6 separate regions of the Homo sapiens genome follow, and all the other regions are linked to region 1. Evidence: promoter capture Hi-C in 16 types of primary human blood cells and fetal thymus (Javierre and others, 2016). All regions are on one chromosome and are shown on one strand. The core of a region is centred on a gene start or on the middle of the fragment in contact, and the rest is flanking DNA. Distances in the headings are between cores, read along the strand shown. Region 1 holds the start of SFSWAP (splicing factor SWAP). Region 2 has its middle 44 kb from the start of DDX51. Region 3 overlaps EP400 (E1A binding protein p400). Region 4 overlaps EP400 (E1A binding protein p400). Region 5 overlaps EP400 (E1A binding protein p400). Region 6 overlaps EP400 (E1A binding protein p400).

What was found. The method cuts DNA at HindIII sites, captures the fragments that hold promoters and counts their contacts. A CHiCAGO score of 5 or more calls a contact.
Region 2: a fragment that was not itself captured here is called in contact with the fragment with the promoter of SFSWAP in region 1 in 1 of 17 cell types (neutrophils); the score reaches 5.7 in neutrophils.
Region 3: a fragment that was not itself captured here is called in contact with the fragment with the promoter of SFSWAP in region 1 in 1 of 17 cell types (neutrophils); the score reaches 10.6 in neutrophils.
Region 4: a fragment that was not itself captured here is called in contact with the fragment with the promoter of SFSWAP in region 1 in 1 of 17 cell types (neutrophils); the score reaches 5.4 in neutrophils.
Region 5: a contact is called between a fragment that was not itself captured here and the fragment with the promoter of SFSWAP in region 1, in 1 of 17 cell types (neutrophils). The highest score is 9.0, in neutrophils.
Region 6: a fragment that was not itself captured here is called in contact with the fragment with the promoter of SFSWAP in region 1 in 1 of 17 cell types (neutrophils); the score reaches 7.4 in neutrophils.

What each region holds. Positions count from the first base shown.
Region 1 is chr12:131,709,089-131,712,935 of GRCh38, forward strand. It overlaps SFSWAP (splicing factor SWAP), which reads left to right and starts at 2,002. Exons shown (of 18, transcript NM_004592.4): 1 at 2,002-2,359. The coding sequence starts at 2,142. RefSeq lists enhancers at 1,557-1,646, 1,787-2,076, 2,167-2,236. The HindIII fragment of the contact is 11,852 bases long and covers 537-3,847 here.
Region 2 is chr12:132,097,994-132,101,840 of GRCh38, forward strand. It overlaps the pseudogene EP400P1. Among named protein-coding and RNA genes, the nearest start is that of DDX51, 44 kb to the right of the region's middle. The HindIII fragment of the contact is 1,405 bases long and covers 1,254-2,658 here.
Region 3 is chr12:132,073,454-132,077,300 of GRCh38, forward strand. It overlaps EP400 (E1A binding protein p400), which reads left to right. Exons shown (of 53, transcript NM_015409.5): 52 at 3,063-3,140. Among named protein-coding and RNA genes, the nearest start is that of SNORA49, 44 kb to the left of the region's middle. The HindIII fragment of the contact is 1,529 bases long and covers 1,304-2,832 here.
Region 4 is chr12:132,052,364-132,056,210 of GRCh38, forward strand. It overlaps EP400 (E1A binding protein p400), which reads left to right. Exons shown (of 53, transcript NM_015409.5): 42 at 783-861; 43 at 980-1,234; 44 at 2,611-2,656; 45 at 2,736-2,845. Among named protein-coding and RNA genes, the nearest start is that of SNORA49, 23 kb to the left of the region's middle. The HindIII fragment of the contact is 6,897 bases long and covers 1-3,847 here.
Region 5 is chr12:132,019,626-132,023,472 of GRCh38, forward strand. EP400 (E1A binding protein p400) reads left to right here. Exons shown (of 53, transcript NM_015409.5): 22 at 424-593; 23 at 1,454-1,696. Among named protein-coding and RNA genes, the nearest start is that of SNORA49, 9.7 kb to the right of the region's middle. The HindIII fragment of the contact is 2,299 bases long and covers 802-3,100 here.
Region 6 is chr12:132,003,589-132,007,435 of GRCh38, forward strand. It overlaps EP400 (E1A binding protein p400), which reads left to right. Exons shown (of 53, transcript NM_015409.5): 13 at 1,489-1,596; 14 at 2,524-2,714; 15 at 3,112-3,289. Among named protein-coding and RNA genes, the nearest start is that of SNORA49, 26 kb to the right of the region's middle. RefSeq lists an enhancer at 2,206-3,405. The HindIII fragment of the contact is 1,876 bases long and covers 850-2,725 here.

The DNA of each region.
Region 1 (3,847 bases), core at 752-3,251:
TGAAGGACCTTCTATTTCTAGGGGAGAACTGGAACAGAGCCTGGGCTACTTCAGCCAGTCCCTCCCTATCTCAGGATGTTGCATCCCAGCTCGTTATGCAGTTACTCTTGAAAACTACAAAGGAAAAGGAGGGAGAAGTGGGTAGGCCCAAGGCTATACAGAGAACTGTCCTGCACAATGAAGCACCTGCATCTGTTTAGTCACTGTTCCCAGAGGTCATCATTGAGGGAATAGGGGGGCCTTCAGATCCCATTTCTGACACCAGAACTGTTAAAAGAGAAACTTTACACAAAACAAATTCGAGTTTATTCGAGCAAGAAAACAATTCATGAATCAGGCAGCATGCAGAAGCAGAAGAGGTTCAGAGAGTTCCACTCAGCAGCATGAGCAGCAAGCTTTTATAGACCCAACACGGAAGCAGAAAAATTACTTGATTGGGTTTTGGTTTGCTTGCATAGGAGCTGGTGTTACAGAGTTGATCTCAAGCTAATGGCCTCCTTATTTGCTTTAGCACCCCACACCTGAACCCAAGGGAAAGCTTGAAGGGAGCCCAGCACCGAAACAAACTAGTAAATGCCTGGGGGCAAACAACAGTGTTTTTATCAAGTAACCATGACACATACATCTTCCTCAGCAGTGGCAGAGCAGTCTTGTAGAGTTAGATAGGAAGATGATGGCCTGGCCACGCATGCTCAGCTGCTGGCCCGGCTCATTCTACAGGTATTAACCAGTATTTGGCCCACAGTGTGCTAAGCACCATTCTAGGTGCTGAGGATGCTAAGGTGACCCCAACAATGTCCCTGATCTCTTAAAGCTAATTCTGGTGGGATGCTGAACACAGGATGTAACCTAAGGTGGTGATGAGAGGTACACAGACAAATCGGAAGGCACAAGTTAGCCACCAGTGAGGGGAAACTCCAGACAACGTAGACACATAAGGCCAGGTGGAGAAATGGATGACTGAGTTAAACTTGGGTAAGGAGCCTGGCAAATGAAGACAGAAGCATGACCCAGTCAGGGGAAACCACAACAAAAGACGTTTGGTGGGAACTGCCTGTTTCTTAATTTCCAAAAATCAGTTAAAGGTTCATATACATTATCTCATTTCAACATCACTGGTAGAAAGATTCCATTTTTATGGAGAGGGGATCTGAGGCCCAGAAAGGAGACGATCTGTCATCGTTTTCCACTCAAGGGCAAACATGGGGATATCCCATCCCATCCCAAAGCCTAAGATTTTGCACTCCAGGCCCTTTGTCTGACCTGAAATTACTGAGCTAAAAGGGACCGAAAGATCCTAATGGAACCACCGATGGGAAAACTGCGGCCCAGGAGGAAACACACCAAGCAAAATTGCACCGTATCCAGGTGGCCAGTCTCCAGACTGGGGTCTCCCTGCCCCGCCAGACCATCTCCCGGCGACAAGGGTCTCAGGTTTCCGAAATCTCGCCACCCGCGAGTGATTTGCAGCGCAGGGGCCTCTGCTGCCTCGGAAACCTTCAAAGGTGGGCGGGTCGGGGACCAAGTCCCCCTAGGGATGGAGAAGGAAACGGGGCCAAGGAAAAGGACATCGCCACCCTGGGCAGAGCACGCACGGCCCCAGCGACTCGGACATGGTGAGGGGCGCGGAGGCTCGGGGTGGACCCGAGGCCTCCACACATGTGGCAGGCTGCAGCAACCCGCCACCCACGAGGACTCGCCCAAGGCCCAGAGCGCGCCGGGCCCCTCCCTCCGACTCCGTCGCCGCCCGACTGGCCGCAGCGGAAGCCGGCGCGCGATCCCACGCTGCGCTTTCGCCACGTCCTGACGGCTGCCCGATAAAACGGACATTAAAATTGCACTTTCCACTGAATACAGCAGCGCCTATTGTGGCGGCACACCTGAATGCGAAAATTAAAGCCAAAATATTTCCTAGCGGCTAAAAGAGCTCCAAGCCTAGGCGAATCTGCCGGTCCGCTCGCCGGAAATGCGGGCTCTCCTGCCGGAAGCTGCCCCTCCACCATTTTGTGGCCCGCTATGGCGGCGGTGTTGAGGTTGGGTACGGGATGCGGGGTCTTTGACTGAAGGGGTAGGCCAAGTGGAGGTATCAGGGACGTCGCGCGGCACAGAAGAGGACCAGCCTGGACGCCGGGGACGCTGTCATGTACGGCGCGAGCGGGGGCCGCGCCAAACCCGAGAGGAAAAGCGGCGCGAAGGAGGAGGCCGGGCCAGGCGGTGCCGGCGGTGGGGGCAGCCGAGTGGAGCTCTTGGTTTTCGGCTATGCCTGCAAGCTGTTCCGGGACGACGAGCGGGCCCTGGCTCAGGAACAGGGACAGCACCTCATCCCCTGGATGGGGGACCACAAGATCCTCATCGACAGGTCGGTTCCTCTCCCCACCCGTCGATCCTTCCCTTCCCTCACCCGCTTGATCTCGTCTGATGTTGACTTGACTGCAAGGACTGCAGAGAGTTTTCTGGAGCCAGCGGGGATCTGGGGGACACCCCCTCCCCTGTCCCCACCTCCTCCTGGTGTTCTGGTGGGGAGGGGGACGGTGAAACCTGCCCTAAGGCACTGGCTGGAATTGCGTGCCGCGTCCGTCTCCGGAGGGATCGTCTCTGGTCCCGCAGCCCCTCTCGACCCCTCACCCTGTCGCTGGGCTGCAGTTGGCGATTCCGCGCGGTGAAAGCAGCCAGTGCCCAGGGTCTTTTCCTGAGTGCACCTGGGCCTGCCGCCCGGCGATGCCATGGGGTCGTGCGCTGCTTTTCTACTTGCCGCGCTCTCACTGCTCGGTGTACTGGGAGGGTACCCTGGGAGGCGTGCCTTTATTCTTCCGAACCGCCGCTCACTGAGACAGTGGCTAGAAGTGTCTCTTGGACCTGTGAGTTAGCCTTAACCTGTTATGCCCCCAGAGCCCTCAGTGGAGCGCCCGTACTTTGCCGGCATGACGTTTGATTTCCCGGTGATAATCCGACGAGTTTGACAGATTGAGGTAGTGAGCAAAGTTGCCCGTCAGTTGGTGGCCACTTGACTTCGTGCGGACCCTGGCCTTGCTCTTGGAAGAGATAGTGTTCTTAGGGCTGGTTTCACTGTCTCTTAAGACTGAAGGGTGGAGCTGGGATATAGATGTGTTGTTTCTTTTCAAATCAAACCTGCTTTAGGTCGTCACTCGAGGGTGTCTAGCGATTATGGGCAGTGGGGGCCTGGGATTAGGGATTTCTAAAGGCGTTTGATTTGAAAAGGATAACATTACATGATGTAGGTGGTTTGCTCCCCTCTTTCTTCCCATTTTTTCAATCCCCCTTCCCCTCGTCTCTGGGTTTTGGGGTTGTTGTGGGGTGGTTTTTTTTCTTTTTTGCCTGTTCGGCTACTTCTGGGGCCCGGACTGAAAAGCTAACCATGACCAACCATTAAACTGTGGAATAGTCTCTCCACGTGAAGAAAGCCCATCGTTTGAGACCATTAAAACTGGATTCTTCATAGCCCTGGAGCATGACTGTAGGGATGACCTCTGAGCTGGCCAGAATGGACACATTAATGACCAAATAGGCCTTTTTCCATCCCTGACGTTTCCTTTTGGAATTAGAGCTCGAAAACGAGAACTGGTGAAGGGAGGGCCGCGGAATCAGATCATGTCTGGATCTGATGGCTCCGTGCTGTGCTCAAGCGTGCTGTGCCTTCACACCATGGTTTATATTGAATGTGTCGCCTGAGTTGTCAGGCTTGCTTTTCCAAAGTGTCACTTGTGTTATTTATCATTAAAGTTTGGTAAGCAATGAAGTCTGAGCTCTTTGTACAGTTTTCCTATCATTCTGTACATGATTTGAGTTAGGTCTTCCAAAACTGGTGGGGAGCAAACGCCGCACATGT
Region 2 (3,847 bases), core at 706-3,205, 390 kb after region 1:
TTTTGTGGTTTTGATGTACAGGTCTTGCACATCTATCAGATTTATTCTTGAGTATTTTATATTTTTTGAAATAATTTTTTTTTGAGACAGGGTCTTACTCTGTCTCCCAGGCTAAAGTACAGTGGCACAATTATAGCTCGCTGCAACCTCTATCTCCTGGGCTCAAGTGATCCTCCCACTATAGTCTCCCAAGTAGCTGGGACTACAGGTGTATACCACCACCCCCAGCTAATTTTTTTTTTTCTGTGGAGATGGGGTCTTACTATGTTTCCCAGGCTGGTCTTGAATTCCTTGGTTCAAGTGATCCTTCTGCCTTGGCCTCCCAAAGTGCTGGGATTGCAGGCGTGAGCCATTGTGCCTGGCAGGATTTTCTCAGAGATGATTATTTTGCCTGAGAATGAAGGGCTTTAATCTTTTTCCCTTACAGTCTGTCTGTGTTTTATTTCTTTTTCTTGACTGACTGTGCTGCTACAATCTCCATGTTGAGTCCAAGTACTGAGAGAGGATGTCCTGTATCAGTTCGTTCTCACACCGCTATAAAGAAATACCTGAGACTGGGTAATTTATAAAGAAAACAGTTTTAATTGGCTCACGGTTCTGCAGGCTGTACAGAAAGCATGATGCTGGCATCTGCTCGGCTTCTGGGGAGGCCTCAGGAACTTACAATCTTGGCAGAAGGCAAAGGGGGAGTGAACACGATATGGCCAGAGCAGGAGTAAGAGAGAGAAGGGGAGGTGATGCACACTTTTTTTGTTTTAGACAGAGTCTCACTCCATCACCCAGGCTGGAGTGCAGTGGTGTGATATTGGCTCACTACAACCTCCGCCTCCCAGGTTCAAGCGATTCTCCTGTCTCAACCTCCTGAGTAGCTAGGATTACAGGCGTGCGCCACCACGCCTGGCTAATTTTGTATTTTTAGTAGAGACGGGGTTTTGCCAAGTTGGCCAGGCTGGTCTCGAACTCCTGACCTCAAGTGATCCACTTGCCTCGGCCTCCCAAACTGCTGGGATTACAGGCGTGAGCCACCACGCCTGGCTGGTGATACACACTTTTAAAATGACCAGATCTCATGAGAATTCACTGTTGCGACCAAGGGGGATGGTGTAACACTATGAGAAACTGCCCCCATGATCCAGTCACCTCCCATCTGGCCCTTCCTCCAACACTGGGGATCACAATTCGACATGAGGTTTGGTGGGGACACAGATCCAAACTGTATTACATCCCTTCCTTGTTTCTGTCTTAAGAGGGAAAGCTTTCAGGCTTTTACCATCGAGTATCATATTAGCTGTTGTAGCCACTGAGATTCTTTATCAGGTCGAGGAAGTTTTCTTCTTCCCAAGTTTACTATATAGAACCAGATTTTCACCTTGGATCTGTTTTCCTTATTCCTAAAGTATGTCCTTCATTTCTTGTACTGCACATCTGCTGGTGGTGAATTCTTTCAGTTTTGTACATTTGGAAAAATCTTTGTCTTTTTTCTTTCTTTTTTTTTTTTTTTTAGACTAGAGTCTCACTCTGTCACTCAGGCTGGAGTGCAGTGGCCTGATCTCAGTTCACTACAACCTCCGCCTCCCAGGGGTTCAAGCAATTCTCCTGCCTCAGCCTCCCAAGTAGCTGGGATTACAGGCGTGTGCCACCACGCCTGGCTAATTTTTGTATTTTTAGTAGAGATGGGGTTTCGCCATGTTGGCCAGGCTGGTCTCAAACTCCCGACCTCAAGTGATCCGCCTGCTTCAGCCTCCCAAAGTGCTGGGATTCACTCTAATACACTAAGTTCACTCTAATACGACGAATACGGATGAACTGCTGGTTGGCCTTCGCCTCCTCCAGCACGCGTTCTGATTGTTGCTGGCCTGCCTGCATGGCCCGGGGAGGGCTCCTCTTCCTTCTCCCTGCTGCAGCTCTGTTGTGCCCCCGGAGTATTCTGAGCCCGTTTTCTAGTTCCAGGCCTGCGTCAGTGTAGGGTGACAGGAAGGGTCCTCTGCTGCACTCCACCTCAGGAAAAGCACCGTCTGTGGAGGAGAATCTGAACTGAGGAGGAAGCCCTGCCCAGCAGCCTGGGGGCTCCCAGGGATGTCTGCTGCATGGAGACTGCAGAAACCTGTGGTGGGGCAGAGAGTTCCAGTTTGGCCGTGTGTTGACTGCCCTCATGCAGACTCTACCAGCGGCCAAAGCGGTGTCTGGAGACGACAGTGTGTGTGCCTAGGGCACACAGGCACGGAGACACCGCCAGCCCTTTGTGTTGTGATCAGGGCTGGCGGGAGGCTCTGACTAGGGCTGTGGGAAGGGGACGTGTGCACTGTCCTCTTTCTGAGCGTTGCTGTGGTGGGAGTCCTGTCACGGGGAGCAGTCATGGAAGAGGACCGGCCCCTCCTCCCAGGTACAAGCACAGGCTCCTGTGCACTCCGACTCGCTGTTCCCCTCATCTGGCCTCCCCAGAGCCCAGGCACTGCCTGCTAACCCCAGACCTTCTGTGGTCCACTTAGGACTCTTGCCCACCATTGGTCCTGCCGGCCGGCCCGCCCAGGCTGGGCTTTCTCAGGGGGACTCCAGCTGCCCTTCTGCCCCATGAGGAGACACTAGCTCCCTTGGCCTCATTCCCTTACTGGCAACTGAGGGTCTGGTTCTTAGAGTCCCTTATGTGTAAACATGTAAAGCTTGTGGCTGTGAGGTGTGTTTGGTAAGAACAGTCCACAGCTTTCACCAGATTCTCAGGAGTGTCAGTGGCCCCTTCCCGGTCAATAAGTTGAAGAGCCGGGGTCAGTCTGGCTGCCACTGAGGGCCAGGCTGCCTCCTTGTGTGCTTGGGTGGCCTGACTGCAAGGAGATGCTCTCACTCAGCCCTGGACACACGGTGCAGATGGTGTGGCGGGTCAGCCCCACAGGGCCACCTCCTCAGTCTTGGGTTCTCAGCCTCAGCTGGTTCACATTTGGGGCCAGAAGATTCCTCCTGGTGGGGCCGTGCTGTGTGTTGTAGGATGGTTAGAGACCTCCAGGCCTCTACCCACCAAATGCCAGCAGTTCTCCCACCCTTATCAGTTGTGACAACCAAAAATGCCTCCAGACATTGCCTGATGTCCCCTGCGGGCACAGTCTTCCGAAGTACAGAGCCACTGATCTATCTGATCTTAGAAAGAGACTGTAGTCATTGCATTTCCGTAGGAAAAGGTGTTCTGAGTTAGAAATAATGTACAAATAGTTTTTTGCCTTGTATCTTCTATGCACCTTCTAATTATTATTTTACTAGATTACAGTCCCTCATGTGCAAACTTTGCACACCTGGAAGAAGAGTTTACTAGTAAGCAAAAGCACTTTTTTTTTTTTTTTTTTTGAGACAGAGTCTCGCTCTGTCGCCAGGCTGGAGTGCAGTGGCACGATCTCGGCTCACTGCAAGCTCCACCTCCCAGGTTCAAGTGATTCTCCTGCCTCAGCCACCCGAGTAGCTGGGACTCCAGGTACCTGCCACCATGCCAGCTACTTTTTGTATTTTTAGTAGAGACGGGCCAACATCACCATGTTGGCCAGATGGTCTTGATCTCTTGACCTCATGATCCGCCTGCCTCGGCCTCCCAAAGTGCTGGGATTACAGGTGTGAGCCACTGCGCCCAGCCAGGAAAACCACTTTTTAAAAAGATGCCTTTTTTTCCGTGTGGATATAAAAATGCCACATAGTAATTAGAGAACATCTAGAAAGCATAAAAAAGTATAAAAAGGGAAAAAATCATTATAATCCACCTAACCCAGAGACCACCACCTGTGGACACATTTTGAGTCTTTTTATTACATCTTTAAAATTACATAATTTTGGATCTTGAATTTTTCCATTTAAAATCAAACATAAAGAG
Region 3 (3,847 bases), core at 818-3,317, 360 kb after region 1:
TTTTCCTTTTTTTTTTTTTTGACACAGTCTTGCTCCATCGCCTAGGCTGGAGTGCAGTGGCGCGATCTTGGCTCACTGCAACTTCCGCCTCCTGTGTTCAAGCGAGTCTCCTGCCTCAGCCTCCTGAGTAGCTGGGATTACAGGCACATGCCACCAGGCCCAGCTAATTTTTGTATTTTTAGTAGAGATGGGTTTCACCATGTTGGCCAGGCTAGTCTCGAACTCCTGACCTCGTGATGCACCTGCCTTGGCCTCCCAAAGTGTTGGGATTATAGGCGTGAGCCACCATGCCCAGCCATAATTCTGTCCTTTTTCATCTTTGACTTTTTATGTGGAATTACTTTCCTTCCACTTGACCCATCCTTTGGAATTTCCTTTAGTGCTTGAAAATGCCTGTGTGTCACTCTTGTTCCTGAGAGACAGTTTTGCTTAGTACAGAATTCCGGATTGGCATTGTTTTTTGGGGTTTTTTTTTTTTTTTTTTTTTTTTTTTGAGACGGAGGCTCACTCTCCCATGCTGGAGTGCAGTGGCATGATCTTGGCTCACTGCAACTTCTGTCTCCCACATTCAAGAGATTCTCCCGCCTCAGCCTCCCGAGTAGCTGGGACTACAGGCACACACCACCATGCCCAGCTAATTTTTATATTTTTAGTAGAGGTGGGGTTTCACCATGTTGGCCAGACTGGTCTCGAACACCTGACCTCAGGTGATCCACCTGCCTCGGCCTCCCAAAGTGCTGGGATTACAGGCATGAGCCACCGCGCCCGGTCGGCATTGTTTTCTGAGTGCATTCACGGTATCATTTCCTCACTGTGGCTGCTTTTGTTGTTGAAGAGGAGCCGGTGTCTGTCCAGCGTTTCTCTCTTCCAGGGTCACCTGTCTCTTCCCCACCGACTGCCTGTTATTGAGACGTTGTCTTTGTCTTTGTTGTTTTGGGTCACCTCTCTCCCCCACCGTCTGCCTGTTACTGAGACGTTGTCTTTGTCTTTGTTGTTCTGGGTCACCTCTCTCCCCCACTGTCTGCCTGTTATCGAGACGTTGTCTTTGTCTTTGTTGTTTTGCAGTTTCATTCCAATGCTCCAGCTTCTTGAATCTCGGGCAGTCTCTCTCATGTCTTTAGGAAATAAGCAGCCACTGTTTGTTTACGTGTTGCCCCTGTCCTGCTTCCTCTGCCCTCCAGGTCTCTCAGCAGCTTTTGTATTTTCTGTGTCTTTGTCTCGTCGTACTATATTCTGAGTCATGTCTTTCGCTCTGTCTCCTCAGTCACTCATTTTTCCCTTGGTTAAGTCAAATCTGCTTCAAAGCTTGTCTGTTGAATTTTTATCTTGATGATTTATTATTTTATTTTCAGAAGTTCCCAAATAATGCCTGGTCTTTGTTTATAGTCTCTTGTTTCCAGGCCTCGCAGAGTGAGTGAGGTGTTTTTCTGGATCTGGTGATTTCCCTGTCTGAAATGTGCTGCATCTGCGGGGACCCCTCGCAGCCTGGGGCAAAGGTGGAGTTTTGCTTCCGCGGGCACCTTCAGGTGCCACAGGAACACTGCTTGGTGTGTGGCTCAGGCTTTCACTCAGCTCTCAGGTGTTACCCACCTGGCCTCTGAATCTGTGTCTCCTCCTCTCTCCTCCCCGGCACTGAGGCTTAGGGCAGGTGCTTTTCTTACAGATGCCACTGGAGGAAGGGGATGCTTTCTTTGCAGCCTTTGGGTACCTTTGTGGGTACAGTGTCTCCCTCCAGGATGGCAGCTGGCAGTAGCACGGGGCTCTTTTGCAAGCTCCCCACCGAGAACTGGCCTATACCTGGTGTCTGGTCAGCTGTGTCCTGTGCGACCCTGGAGATCACGGGGTGCGTCTCCATGTGGCCAGCGATCCCGGGCAGAGGTTGTGCAGCTTTTCTGCTCCGTGACTCGTGATGCCCGCCTGTGCTTAGGTTTGGAGACTGGCAGTTCCTGACTCTTTGCAGGTTTCTTGGTACATTTAAGATTTCTTGCTAGTGCTTTATTTAAGACGTCTCAGGATTTTCAGTGCTGTGCCAAGTAAGTCCTGGACCATTGTGGTCTTGAGATGGGCCCTGGAGCACCGGCTGCATCTTTGTTTCCCAGCAGTTCCACAGGGGGCGCTCAGGGCACTTATCTTAGTGAATTTTATTTATAATTGTTTAAGTGACAGTAAACTAGTAAATGCCTTCTGATTGATTTTAATTTTAGTAAGGACTAACATTTATTTCGACCTTTGTTCATGTGTGAGTAAATCATGTAATTTCACATATTTCGCAGAATAATCTTGGGAAATATTATTTTCATCCGTTTTCTGTAAGTAACAGGACCCAGCAAGAGACCAGGGTCCGTGAGGGCCTTGTGCAGGGAGGGCCCTTGAAATCAGGGCCCCCAGCAGCTGCCCACGCTGGAGCCTCTCTTGTGTTCTGGGTGCACGCCATGACGGTGCTGATAGGACACACAGGTGGCCCAGAGCCTCTTACTACGTCAAGACAGCGGGAGATGCATGCAGTAGCAAGTGCACAGAAAGTGGGCACTGGGTGGAAAGTGTTGCTTTATAAATAGCCAGATCTCAATCATGACTAAGAAGAATGTAGAAAAATGATAAAATTACCAGCCTCAAAACCTTGGTGCGTCACCGGGTTCCCCACTTCAGCTGGCTGCCCTAGCTGCACTGTACAGCTCATTACTGGAACGTCGTCCAGGCCTGTCATATGCAGAGCCCTTGGGACTCACAAGACGCTCAAATACTTACCATCCTCAGTCTGATTCTTTCATATAAACTTGCAGTCGTTTTTGTGAAAAGAAAAAATGTGTCTGAAATATGAGACCAAAAATAAGCTTAAATGATGAGTGATGGCAAATTGGGGAGGCAGTCAGTTGACTCACCATGCAGTGGAACGACTTGCTCTCTCACTGCTGCAGGTGGGCACACTACGAGAATTGCTCTTCTGTGTCACCTGGTCATTGTGTTTTTTGCATTAACTGAGGACAGAAAGGGAGGAAAAATCTCTTTTTGTGCACATACTCCTTTGAATTGTATGTTTGGCTTTTTTTGTTTTGTCAAAGGTTGCAAAACTTCCTCAAGTTGTTCAACAGCAAACACCCGTGGCCAGCATCCAGCAAGTTGCCTCTGCTTCCCAGCAGGTAGGACGCATAGACAAAGTGGAAACCTCACATTTCCCAGGTCAGAGAATGGGTTGTTTTCATCTGAGGTCATGATTAGGGAATCACTTTTGATTTTTGTGATACACACAAAAACATTAACTTCAGGGGAAAAACTAGATACACTTAATAATGAGAAGAGTGAACAAGCGTTTAGAGGTTGTGTCAGCCATACTGAGGGAGCCTCACCTTGGGCTCATTCCCAGGACCCTTCATTCACTGATCATCGCGGGTGTGTCCTGCAAGTCGCAGACACTGCCCTGTGGTTTTAGGGAGGCACAGGCCTCAGGCAAGCAGGCTCCGCTCGGGGCCCGCCCTTGAGCAGAGGCGCTGTGGGCACAGTGGCCTTGCCTCCCACAGAAGCCCTTCAGGCGCTTTCACTGTTGTCACTGATGCTCCACAATATGACTCTTTAGCACAGTGCTTTAAATGTAAAGCGGTGCTTTAAACTTTCTAAATTTTGTTTAAAGTCACACTGGCATATAGATTTCAAGAAACCAAACTCTATTAAAAGCTTTACTACAACAACAAAATCAGTCCCTGACCCAGCTCTCACCCTTTTCCCAAGAGGCATCTGGTGTTAGTCTAAAAGCAACCATCTTTTAATTTTCCACTTGTGTTTAATTGGAAACCAGAGGTCATACTGTTGTGTGACTGGTCATTCTTCCGTGTCATAAAAGCATAGTCAG
Region 4 (3,847 bases), core at 349-2,848, 340 kb after region 1:
AACCCCCAGGACTCCCTACTGCCCACGCTCTGAGTCGCCTGGCCCTGGCTTTCAGCCCCTTGGTGCTCCCTGAGTGTGCTGGCAGCCGCGCCCCAGCCCTTCACTTAACTGCCCTCGTGAGATGTTTTCAGAGCGCACTGTTGAGAATTGCAGCCCCGCCCTGCTGTTTTCCTCCATAGCAGCCAGTACGTCTTCAGACCCACTGCACATTTTACCTGTTTGTCGTCTGATGTGAGTGCTGTGATCGCTGGGACTCTAGCGTCTGGGAGCACAGACCCATCATTTGATTGATGTTGTCGATTAAATGAAGAGTTAATTCACCCTACTAATATTTATGGACCGCGGGCCTGCGCGGCGTGGAGCCTGGGCATTCTCGGGGGAGCGAGAGAGGCACAGTCCCGCCCTCCCTTTACCTCCCTGGAGAGGAACTCGAGGGCATCCTCACAGAAGGAACAGACAGAGATTTTCCCAAGTACAGTGCAGACACATGAGGTGGGCTGTGCGTTTGGGGGCTGCCACAAGTACGCTGGGGACGTGTTCGGAGATACTTTTCCTGGAGAGTGGGAGAGCTCGGCCTCAAGGAAGAGGACTCAGCGCCAGGCTGAGGATGAGGTCTAGGTGGCTCGATCTCCTGCAGGGCACATTGGGCACCTTGCTTTACGCCCTCATCTCTTGGGCTGGAGCTGCCCCAGCACCTGGCAGCATGGTGTTTCTAGGGTACGTGGTACTTGTCTGTCTTAAAACTTGCCTGTATGTTTTTAACCTTTGCGTCTGTCTTTCAGTGGAATCAACTATGACAAGCCGCTGCCTCCCATCCAGGTGGCATCTCTCCGTGCAGAGCGAATCGCAAAAGAGAAAAAGGTCAGCGCCCTGGGCCCTTCTGCTTGAGTGGGAAAATGTGGTGACTGTGACTTCATCCAGGGGGTATGCAGGCCGAGTCTGCCCCTCCAGTGGCTCCTCTTCCTTCCTGGCCCCTCAGGCTCTGGCTGATCAGCAGAAGGCACAGCAGCCGGCCGTGGCCCAGCCACCCCCGCCCCAGCCGCAGCCCCCACCACCCCCGCAGCAGCCACCGCCACCGCTGCCACAACCACAGGCAGCGGGCAGCCAGCCGCCAGCAGGGCCACCAGCTGTCCAGCCCCAACCCCAGCCACAGCCCCAGACCCAGCCACAGCCTGTGCAGGCCCCAGCGAAGGCGCAGCCCGCAATCACGACGGGGGGCAGTGCAGCCGTACTGGTGAGCAGGGGCCTCCTCCCGGGCTTCCCCTCTACGGGAAGTCACCCACACCTGCACTTGATTCAAGTGCTTTCTGTTGAAACGAAGACTTGTTGCCAGTTCTAGCACATTTCCAGCTTGTAGACCTTCCTCTGAAGAAATGGGAAAAGGCTTAGTCTCATCCCAGAGGAATTGTGTGTTTTCACCTGGATTCTGCCATTTCTCTCCTCCAGGGCTTTTGTGGGCTTAGTGGCTTTATTGGATTTGGCAGGTAGAGGCAGCTCCTTTTAGTGGAGGTGGTTGGGAAGTTTGTAATTGCCTGGGTTTTGTAAAACATACCTGTGACGCATTCACTTCCTGACTTCCTACACACTTAGAGAGCAGGTACTGCCTGTGTCGGTGTCTCAAAGCATGCCCATGTGTGCTCCCCCACACAGGTCAGTCTTTAATGCCTGTTGTAGAAAAGCTGTAAAGCACACAAGAAGCATTGTGAAAAGAAAGGCAGGGTGCGGAGCTGCGGACTGTGGCCATGCACACCACGCTCTGGTGTATCTCTGTACTGTGTGCGTCCGTGTGCCACACAGACGCTGAAATCATATGCGCAGAATCACACCTGCAGAGAATAGGAGCTGTGCCAAATTGGGGAAACCCACACTTTGGACTACCAGGCAGGCATAAAAATATTTTTGTTACATAGAACCATTTCCTGCAGTAGTTTTTAGAAAATTGTTTGCTGTAGTGGAATTTTTATATGTACTCAGGCAACTTCATTCCTCATTTATTCAAAAGGGATCTTTGTGAATACTTACTTGGTGCAAGGTGGGCAAGATGGGCAGTGCCCACATTCTGGAGCCACGTCCTACAGGGGAGGGAGGCAGCCAAAGGGATCATTTTAAATGCTGGCGGGAGGAGTCAGGGTGGCACAATGCAGGACTGGCTTGTTAGGAAACACCTTTCTGAGGACTTGGCATTTGAGCTAAGGCCTGAATGACAAGGAGTTGGTCATAAGAAGAACAAAACAGCAAGTACAGAGGCCCTGAGCTTGGCTGATATGGGGGCCAGAAAGCTCAGTGTGGCTGGACTCAGGTGGTGAGGGACAGAGGGTGGATGAATGGAGTGGAGGGACGGAGGAGTGGAGGGACAGTGGGGTGAGGGTGGAGGGACAGTGGGATGGAGGGTCCCTGGGGTGGAGGGACAATGGGATAGGGGTGGAGGGACAGCAGGTAGACAGAGGGTGGGGGCACCGCCAGGTGGAATGAGCTGGGGAGGATGGGACAGGTGGCTGTGTGAATGTCGTGGAGTTTGGATTTGATTCTGAATGAAGTGGAAGCCTTTGGAGGATTTATGCAGGGGAGAGCCTGACGTGAAATTCAAATGGATTTTTTTTTTTTAAATAGGCAGGAACCATTAAAACATCAGTTACTGGGACGAGCATGCCCACTGGTAAGACAAATACAGAGATGCTGAAATGTGGACCCCATTTCTCCTGGCGCTGTTGCCTTATGCCCGCCTGTCTCCGCAGGTGCCGTGAGTGGAAATGTGATCGTGAACACCATCGCAGGGGTCCCAGCTGCCACCTTCCAGTCCATCAACAAGCGCCTGGCGTCGCCAGTGGCTCCTGGGGCCTTGACTGTGAGTTGCGCTTCACCTGGGTTGTGCACCTTGACTGCATTCTGCCGAAATTATTTGCTTGTCTGTTAATTCTTCTTCTTCTTTTTAAGTATTCCATTGGTGAAAAACTGTCTAGTTTGAATTTCATAAAATAAGTAGCTGATCAGTATGTTGATTTCAGAAACATTCAGCTGTTTAGGGGATGGTTTCCATTCTGTATGAGGGATGAAAATGAGGTGGGGTATGTGTGTGTGTGTGTGGTGTAGGGGTGTGTGTGTGTGTGTGTGAGGTGTAGGGGTGTGTGTGAGGTGTAGGTGTGTGTGTGTGAGGTGTAGGGGTGTGTGTGAGGTGTAGGGGTTGTGTGTGTGAGGTGTAGGGGTGTGTGTGAGGTGTAGGGGTATGTGTGGTATAGGGGTGTGTGTGAGGTGTAGGGGTTGTGTGTGTGAGGTGTAGGGGTGTGTGTGAGGTGTAGGGGTATGTGTGTGAGGTGTAGGGGGGCGTGTGTGAAGTGTAGGGGTGTGTGTGTGTGTGAAGTGTAGGGGTGTGTGTGTGAAGTGTAGGAGGGTATGTGTGTGTGTGTGTGTGAACTGTCCCCTCCCTGTAGGATGATTTTAGATAGGAGGTAGGCGGGATGTGAGGGTCCGCTGCTGATTCTATTGCCGCAGGTGCCCCCCATGTGCTTGTCACTGTGCCCATGTGGGGAAGCTAAGAGATGACAGCCCTCTTGGGGGCGTGGTTTTGGGGGAGGGGACACGGCATCACACGAGGGCATGGCTGGGTGTGTGCAAGGAGCAGGTGGGCATGGGAGGAGCGGGCAGTTTCTACGGAACGTGGAGACCCCAGGTGTGGGAAGCGGTAGGTGCAGCCCACCCAGGTGGAGAGGAGGCACCTAGGCAAAGGTGCAGAGCCATGTGGTGCCCTGGGACCACCTGCTTCTCTTGGGTGTTTCATCATCAGAACCAAACACAAGTGAGAATAAGGAGCTCAGATTTGTATCTCGATTTTCCAAATAGTTCACAGACC
Region 5 (3,847 bases), core at 701-3,200, 310 kb after region 1:
CGGGAGTTTGAGGCAACAGTGAACCATCACTTGAACGGCTGCTTGATCAGACTTTTGTCAAGTTGATGTTTCTCCTCACTCCCCTCAGCCCTTGTGCTGTAATAGATGCGTTGTTTTCTATCTACATTGATATGATTGTGAAAGTTAAAACAGCATTCACCCTTGTATTCCCAGGAATCTGGGTGGATGTACCATACCACTTTGGTGTACTTAGTCTTGTTAGCCACTGCGCCCGGGCCCGGGGTGAGCTTACCTAGAGCAGTACTTAGGCATCTTTCCCCTTCCCTCTGTAAACTGCACTCTGGGTGCTGGTCCCTGAGCTGGCTTCCTATGGGCAGCGGTGAACCCCGGCTCCATGAGGTGGCCTGTCCTCTCTGTGGTCTGATGCTCTGTATCTTCTTGCCTGGACCAATGGGCATCTAGGTTGTTTCAGCCTGTGCAGTATGGCCAGAAGCCCGAGGGTCGCACCGTGGCTTTCCCCAGCACTCACCCGCCCCGGACGGCAGCCCCCACCACGGCCTCTGCTGCTCCACAGGGCCCGCTTCGAGGACGGCCGCCCATCGCCACGTTCTCTGCCAATCCGGAGGCAAAAGGTAGACTTCACGTAGTTGTCTGCTCTCCGCCTTATGGAGGTTTTTGTGGGACAAGTTCATGGCACTTTCTTCTCGCGCCTCTGGATGCGGTAATTGTCCCTGAGTGGGAACAGGCACCACCCGCTGGCTTTCTGAAGGTGCCTTGTTTAGTTCTTGATGAGTTTTAGACTTTTTGATGGCTTGTAATGGATGTTTTCCCTATTGAAGAAGCTTCACTCCTAGGTGATAAGTGTTGATCTGATGCTCACAGCCACTGGGCAGGCTGTTTCTGTTGACAGAGGTGCGTGCGTGCAGTCGTCTAGGAGACTCCTGAGAACGTCTGCTCATATTGTATTTTGTGCTGTCACTTGAACTTAATTATTCTTTTGAGGAAGGGTAGAGTAGAAAAGGCCATCAAAAGAGTTAAAAGTAGTATTTCACCACCTGGCCAAAGGGGCCCTCCACGCCATGTCCATCCAGGTTTTCTGAGCTAAAAATAAATGCTCAGACCTGCATTGTTGCCAGCATTCTCTATAGAAATATGAGTGGAAGCTCTGTTGATGTTTTCTTTGTGTGTTTAGGAAATAGTTTCTAATTGATACTAATGTTTGGTTGGGCTGACTTCTAACAGTTTCTGTTTACTCTGAGAAATGTACCGCGTAGCGTACTGTAGCTCGAAGTGAAGATAATTATCAACAAGTAAAATTATATTTCTCTCACCCTGTAAACTATATGGCCCCTCTTTTTTTCCTTAAGAGGGGACTTCTCATTTGAGAGACGGTGTGAAATGTTTATTTTATTTCTTTAAAATTCAGTTTAAAATATTGTATTTTATTAAGAACCTCTAACAGCTTTGCACAAACAAACCTTATCGATTGCAGCAGCAGCAGCCCCGTTTCAGACCTCTCAGGCTTCCGCCAGTGCTCCACGACACCAGCCCGCCTCGGCCTCCAGCACAGCCGCTAGCCCGGCCCATCCTGCGAAACTGCGGGCCCAGACCACAGCACAGGCCTCCACCCCAGGCCAGCCCCCGCCCCAGCCCCAGGCCCCCTCGCACGCGGCCGGGCAGAGCGCGCTGCCTCAGAGGCTGGTGCTCCCCTCGCAGGCCCAGGCCCGCTTGCCCAGTAAGTGGCCTCACCTTTCCAGGTTTCTGCCATCTCTCTACCCCAGAGGAGTTGTGTTAAGAACACGGGGATGTAGGAGGAGCCTTGCTGTCCACTCCTTTGTCTTTCCCCAGCCCCATGCCCGGTGCTGCCTCTCACCAGTGCAGCTGCCTCCGGCATGAGTCTAGCAGGGAGCGCCTCTGTGGAGGCCACATCCGGCCTTCTCCTGTCTGTGCTCTCTCTCCTGACCCCGCCATCCAGCTCTGCTTTTCTGCTGCACTCACTCACTGCTTTGGTGCTGTGGACGGCACTTCCCAGTGTTAGCCCCGGCCTTGTTCCACCAGCCACACAGGTGCACTCTGGGGGAGCAGATGCTCCTAGAGTGACAGCGACTGCATTTGGGAAGGTCGCTTCCTTGCCAGTCATGTGAACTAGCTTTAGGTTCCTAAAAAACATTAGCTCTTTTTAGTCTCTCGCCTGTTACCAAATTTAAACTTGGGATTGCTCAACCAAGATAACTTGTAATAATTTATGACTTAAAAAACACAGTTATTAATTTTTTTAATACAGAACATTTTGCTGTGTCCAGTGGGATTAGTATGTTTTCAAACCTTACATGTACCCTATTCATTCTGTGGTGGAAATTATCCTGACTTAAAGTATTATGTTATTTCTCAAGTGCCACCTCAACTCCTTTTGTTGTTGGTATAGCCAAATTATGTGGAGGCCTTTCTGGAAAGATGCAGATGGGAGAGGGAGTGATGCACAGAGACACTTGAGTTCAAACTAATTCTCTTTCCTTACAAGTCTCTCTCTCCCATTGCCCAAAAATAAAGAGGAATTGTCCTAGTTAAGTGCCCTAAGGGAGAAAGCAGTTGCATATTTTACATCTTCATCAAACTAGACACTGTCTTGCGTGGGATGAGAGTCATGTTGGTGGTTGCCAGAGGAGCTGTTCTTTGGGAGATCTGTGAAGTGAGCAAAACTGCTTTTCCTGTGGGTCGGTCCTCACCTGTGTATGGAACAAGGAGGATTGTTGAGAGATTGACACTTCTATGCACAAATCTCTGTCTTCTGTTTTCATTTTCCCCTCCTTGTTCACGGTTATTCTGTGGGCAAGATATCTCTAGACATTTTTCTAGCCTCTTACTAACTATTCTTTTTATCATATCACTAATAATTCTGGCATGGATTTCTCGGGAAGAACATTTAGATTCAAGTATCAACCATTGGGAAATAAGTCTTTAAACCTGTTGTTCAGTTGTAGCCGGAAGGTAGTACCTTTTTGAGTTGGGGGCAAATGACCACATCTGAGTTATGTTTTTTCAAAAAAAGTGTTTTAAGCAACGCTAAGTTTTACTTTTTTTTTTTTTAAACAGTAAATGTTATAGATTGACGCTTACCATCTAATTCAAATTAGTATGAAGCTTTATATCTTAAAGCTTTATTTATGTATGTGATTTCTTTATGTATCTAGAGGCATTGCTAGATCTTGTAGACACCGTGGCTCACACCTGTAGGCCCAGCTGCTTGGGAGGCTGAGGTGGGAGGATCGCTTGAACCCAGGAGTTTGAGGCTGCAGTGAGCTATAATCCTGCTACTGCCCTCCAGCTTGGGTGACAGCCAGACCCTGTCTCTCACAAAATAAATAAAAATACATTCTTAGATTTTGAAGAGTTATGGGTGTAATTGAAGCTAGTTATTTTTTTATATTTGTAAAGATATAATCTCTCTTTGTGAGCTAAATTGGACAGGTACTTTTCACATTTTTAAAGTTCTCTAAAGTTTAGGTTCATATGTGAGTTTCCAAGTGTATTACAAATACATTTCTGCTTTTTTTTTTTTTTTGGAGATGGAGTTTCACTCTTGTTGCCCAGACTGGGGTGCAATGGCCTGATCTTAGTTCACTGCAACCTCTGCCTCCCGGGTTCAAGCAATTCTTCTGCCTCAGCCTCGTGTGTAGCTCGGATTACAGGCGCCCACCACCATGCCCAGCTAATTTTTTTTTTTTTTTTTTTTTTTTTTTTGCATTTCTAGTAGAGATGGGTTTTCACCCTGTTGTCCAGGCTGGTCTCAAACTCCTGACCTCATGTGATCCACCCACCTCAGCCTCCCAAAGTGCTGGGATTACAGGCATGTGCCACTGCACCCAGCTGATTTCTGCTATTTTTG
Region 6 (3,847 bases), core at 538-3,037, 290 kb after region 1:
TACAGAATTATCTTCTTACTGGAAGTTTCCAGTGGTTTGGCTTGTTTTTCCTACTTACATATAGCATCATATGCTGTAGTGGTGCATCCCAGCATTTCGCTCTGGAAGCATCAGACAGACAGGAAAGGTGAAGAACCTTGTTAGGAACATCATGGACACACCACCTGAATTCCACAGCCAACACTTACTTTCACTGGGCTCCATTAGGTCTATGTCCATCAAGCCAGTGTGGCAAATATTTAACATCCTGAGCAAATGAATTCAAAAAGTGTTTTGCTAGTCCCAAGTGGACAGTGCCTTTAACATGGTCCTTGTAGGGTGCTTGTCCATGGCATTTGTTGTTTTGGCTCAACAGTCTTTGACATAAAATACAGATGCAAACAAGCTCACATATCACAAGTACACAGCCCAACTAAAGGGTTTTCCCCTGTTAGATCTACCACTGTGTGAACATTCTTTGAACAGAAATCTGGGTTCACATTTCTGTCATTCCTCTGGATAGACTCACTAAAAGGGGAAATGATGAGGTTGAGGGCATTGGATTCCAAAGCCCTTCAGCTTTCCGTGTTGATTTCCAGAAAAATCCAGCCAGTTTATGCCATTATCAGCAGCATGTGGGAGTATCTAATTCATAATAATTTCCCAGTGTTATGATTTTAAGGTGGTTGATAATTTGGTACTTAACAAATTGTGCACTGATTTCCAGGGATGATTAATGAAAAAACATTTTATTGCCCTTTACACTTTTATGTATGTAACAGCTTCATATCCTTTGCCCACTGTTATTGGGGATTTAATTAATGTGTGGTATTTTTTTTTAAGCAATTAGGGTGAGTGTTTTATAAAAAAAGCTTAATTATGTTTTATTATACTTTTTAACATTTTTGCTTTTTGTTTCTTCATTTGATATTTTGTATTTTTATATATCATCTTCATCAGTTATTTCCTATCAATGGTGTTCACTTTTTACATTTTTATTTATTAGTCTATACTGTTACTGTTCATTTAGATTATTTCAGATATTTTAAATCTTTTGTGAATACAATTGAGTTTCTTTCAAAGATTCTCATCTTTATAGAGAAAATATTTTATACTTTTAAAAATTTGCATAAATTTCAGGGGTGCAAGTACAGTGCTGTTTCCTGGCTGTACTGTGTAGTGGTGAAGTCTGGGTCTCTGGTATGTCATGACCCAAATGTGTGTTGCACCTACTAAGTAATTTCTCATCATTCCCCTTGCATCCCCCAACAAAATATTTTACACCTTTTATCAGTAATGGGCAACCATTTTAGTTTTTAGAAAAAACAAGTGTGCTTTTAGACAATATAATCTTTTTCCAAGGAGTGATCTAAAGCTGGAAAAAGGAATACATGTGAGAGGGAGCCCCTTGCCCTTCTTACCGTGGTTCTCCTGGCTGCTGCTCCTTCCCAATTTAAATTACAGTTGTTGTTATAAAGTAACAGCCCTTCTGCCCGCAACCCTCTGCAGCTGAGCTGCCCCTCCTGGACCTGATGAAGCTGTACGAAGGCGCCTTCCTGCCGAGTTCTCAGTGGCCCCGGCCGAAGCCTGATGGGGAGGACACAAGCGGAGAGGAAGGTGCGCTCCCAGCCTTTGGAAGAATTCAGGGTTAAAAGCAGAAGCCGGAGTACTTACAAAGACTTAAAATAAGATTTAGAAAATTTCTTTTAGTTTGATAAAATAAAAAATTAGAAATATTTAATAAGTATCTTTATATTGAATAGAATTTTATTAAATTCCGTGCTTTTAATTTATTAACCTGGCACAGTTATCGGGGCACTTGATCATGTTGTGAAGGATGTAAAAATATTTTTCTCTAGATTTATAAACATCATTGTTTTATGGACCTAGATATATTTATTCAGGCTGTGCTGTGTTTGTTCAACACACCAGTTTTGAGTAGTTTATTTTACTTGGTATTAGACTTTCTAAACAGATGCACAGAGCATACCAGAAAAGGTCTGCCTTTCCTGCTCTCATTCCAGTTGTTGGGACAGTTAGACACCTGCATGCGAGTTGGGGAGTGGCCCACAGGAGCCTTGGGGAGGTCAGGCCTTACCAGACCCCACGCTGCCAGCAGGACCAGAGGAAGGAGTGGCGGGTTTGGTCTCCTCCCGGTTTCCCACATTTGGGAAAGGGTTCTGCTTTTTTCTTTCTTGGTGATAGACGGGAGATCCCTAAACCCTGAGACACCTACATGTATCTCTCTGTGATACCAGCTCCTAATTGCTATGGAGACATTTTCCAAAATGCCAGACTATTTGGGGCAAATTATACTCTTGGAGGGCTTTCCAGAATGGTCCTTGGTTTGATAGTTTCATGAGAGTTCTCTCCCATTTATCCAGGTAGCATTGTTAGATATTTTGGATTACAAATAAAAAATTATTGCCTAATTCAGTATTTAAAGTAGTTGGATTCTATAAACTTTTTCCTGTTTTAAAAAAAGGTTTAGATTTATAAAGCCTTCTCAGTGGCCCTCACTTCTCTGTTTTATTGTCGTTACAGATGCAGATGACTGTCCAGGCGACAGGGAGAGTCGCAAGGACTTGGTTCTCATCGACTCGCTTTTCATCATGGATCAGTTCAAAGCTGCCGAGAGGATGAATATCGGGAAGCCAAACGCCAAGGACATTGCGGACGTCACTGCGGTGGCTGAAGCCATCCTGCCGAAGGGCAGTGCTCGGGTCACAACCTCGGTGAGGCGCTAAGCTTTCAAGTGTGGGATGGGCCTTTGAGAGACAGAGCACATAGCTTAGCCATGAGAAAAGCTTTTCCTCTTCCCAGTGAAATGGTCTATCCCAACTGCAGAGTTGTCAGAAAAAGCAATTCTTCATGTGCCTGTAGTCCCAGCTACTCAGGAGGGTGAGGCAAGAGGATTGCTTAAGGCCAGATGTTCAGGCGTTCAAGACCAGCTTGGGTGACCTAGCGAGACTCGATCTCCAAAAGAAGCAATTCTTCCTCTTCCTGTTTTCTGTAGATCATTTTTGTGGCTTTCTAATTGGTTTATCATGTGACTGTTGATTTCAGTTTTGAGAAAAAGTTTGGGTGATTATTTTGACGAGCTGTCATTCTTTTATTTGTTCATCACTGCAGGTCAAGTTTAATGCTCCATCTTTGTTGTATGGGGCTCTCAGAGATTATCAGAAGATTGGCCTGGACTGGCTGGCCAAACTTTACAGGAAGAATCTCAATGGCATATTGGCAGATGAAGCTGGGCTGGGTAAAACAGTGCAGATCATTGCTTTTTTTGCCCACCTAGCTTGTAACGAAGGTAAGAGTTTGCTAGTTTTTTTAACAATACCTATTTGCTAGGACTTACCTATAGGCCAGTGTGTTTGATGGGAGTGTGGGGACTTGGCTATCTTATCTACTTCTTTGCTCCTATCTGTTGACCTGAGCAAATTGAGGCTCAGAAGTATTCATTTTATGAATGAATAAAAAACTGGTTCACAGTTAACATCCAGTAACAATTAGTGAAAATCTAATAAAATACAGAGACTCGTCAGGCTATGACTGAACCTTGTGACTCCAGGGTCAGGTCACTGTGCAGTGTGTGGGCAGCAGAGCAGGTGGTCCACTTCCCATGCTGCTTCTAGACTGGCATGAACCCGCCGTTGGGCTCTCAGCCGTGTGGGGTGGTTTGTGGCATGCATCTTGGCTCACTGTATCCTTTTCATGTTATCATGTCCATGCCTCCTCTCGTCCCTCTTGCTGGATTTCACCTGTCAATGGGGCAGCGTTTCTGATCCACTGCTCAGGTTCCTTAGGGAATGGGCCTGGGTACACTGTGTGGGCTCAGTCTCTGCATGGCAGCCCCAACTGGCTCTTC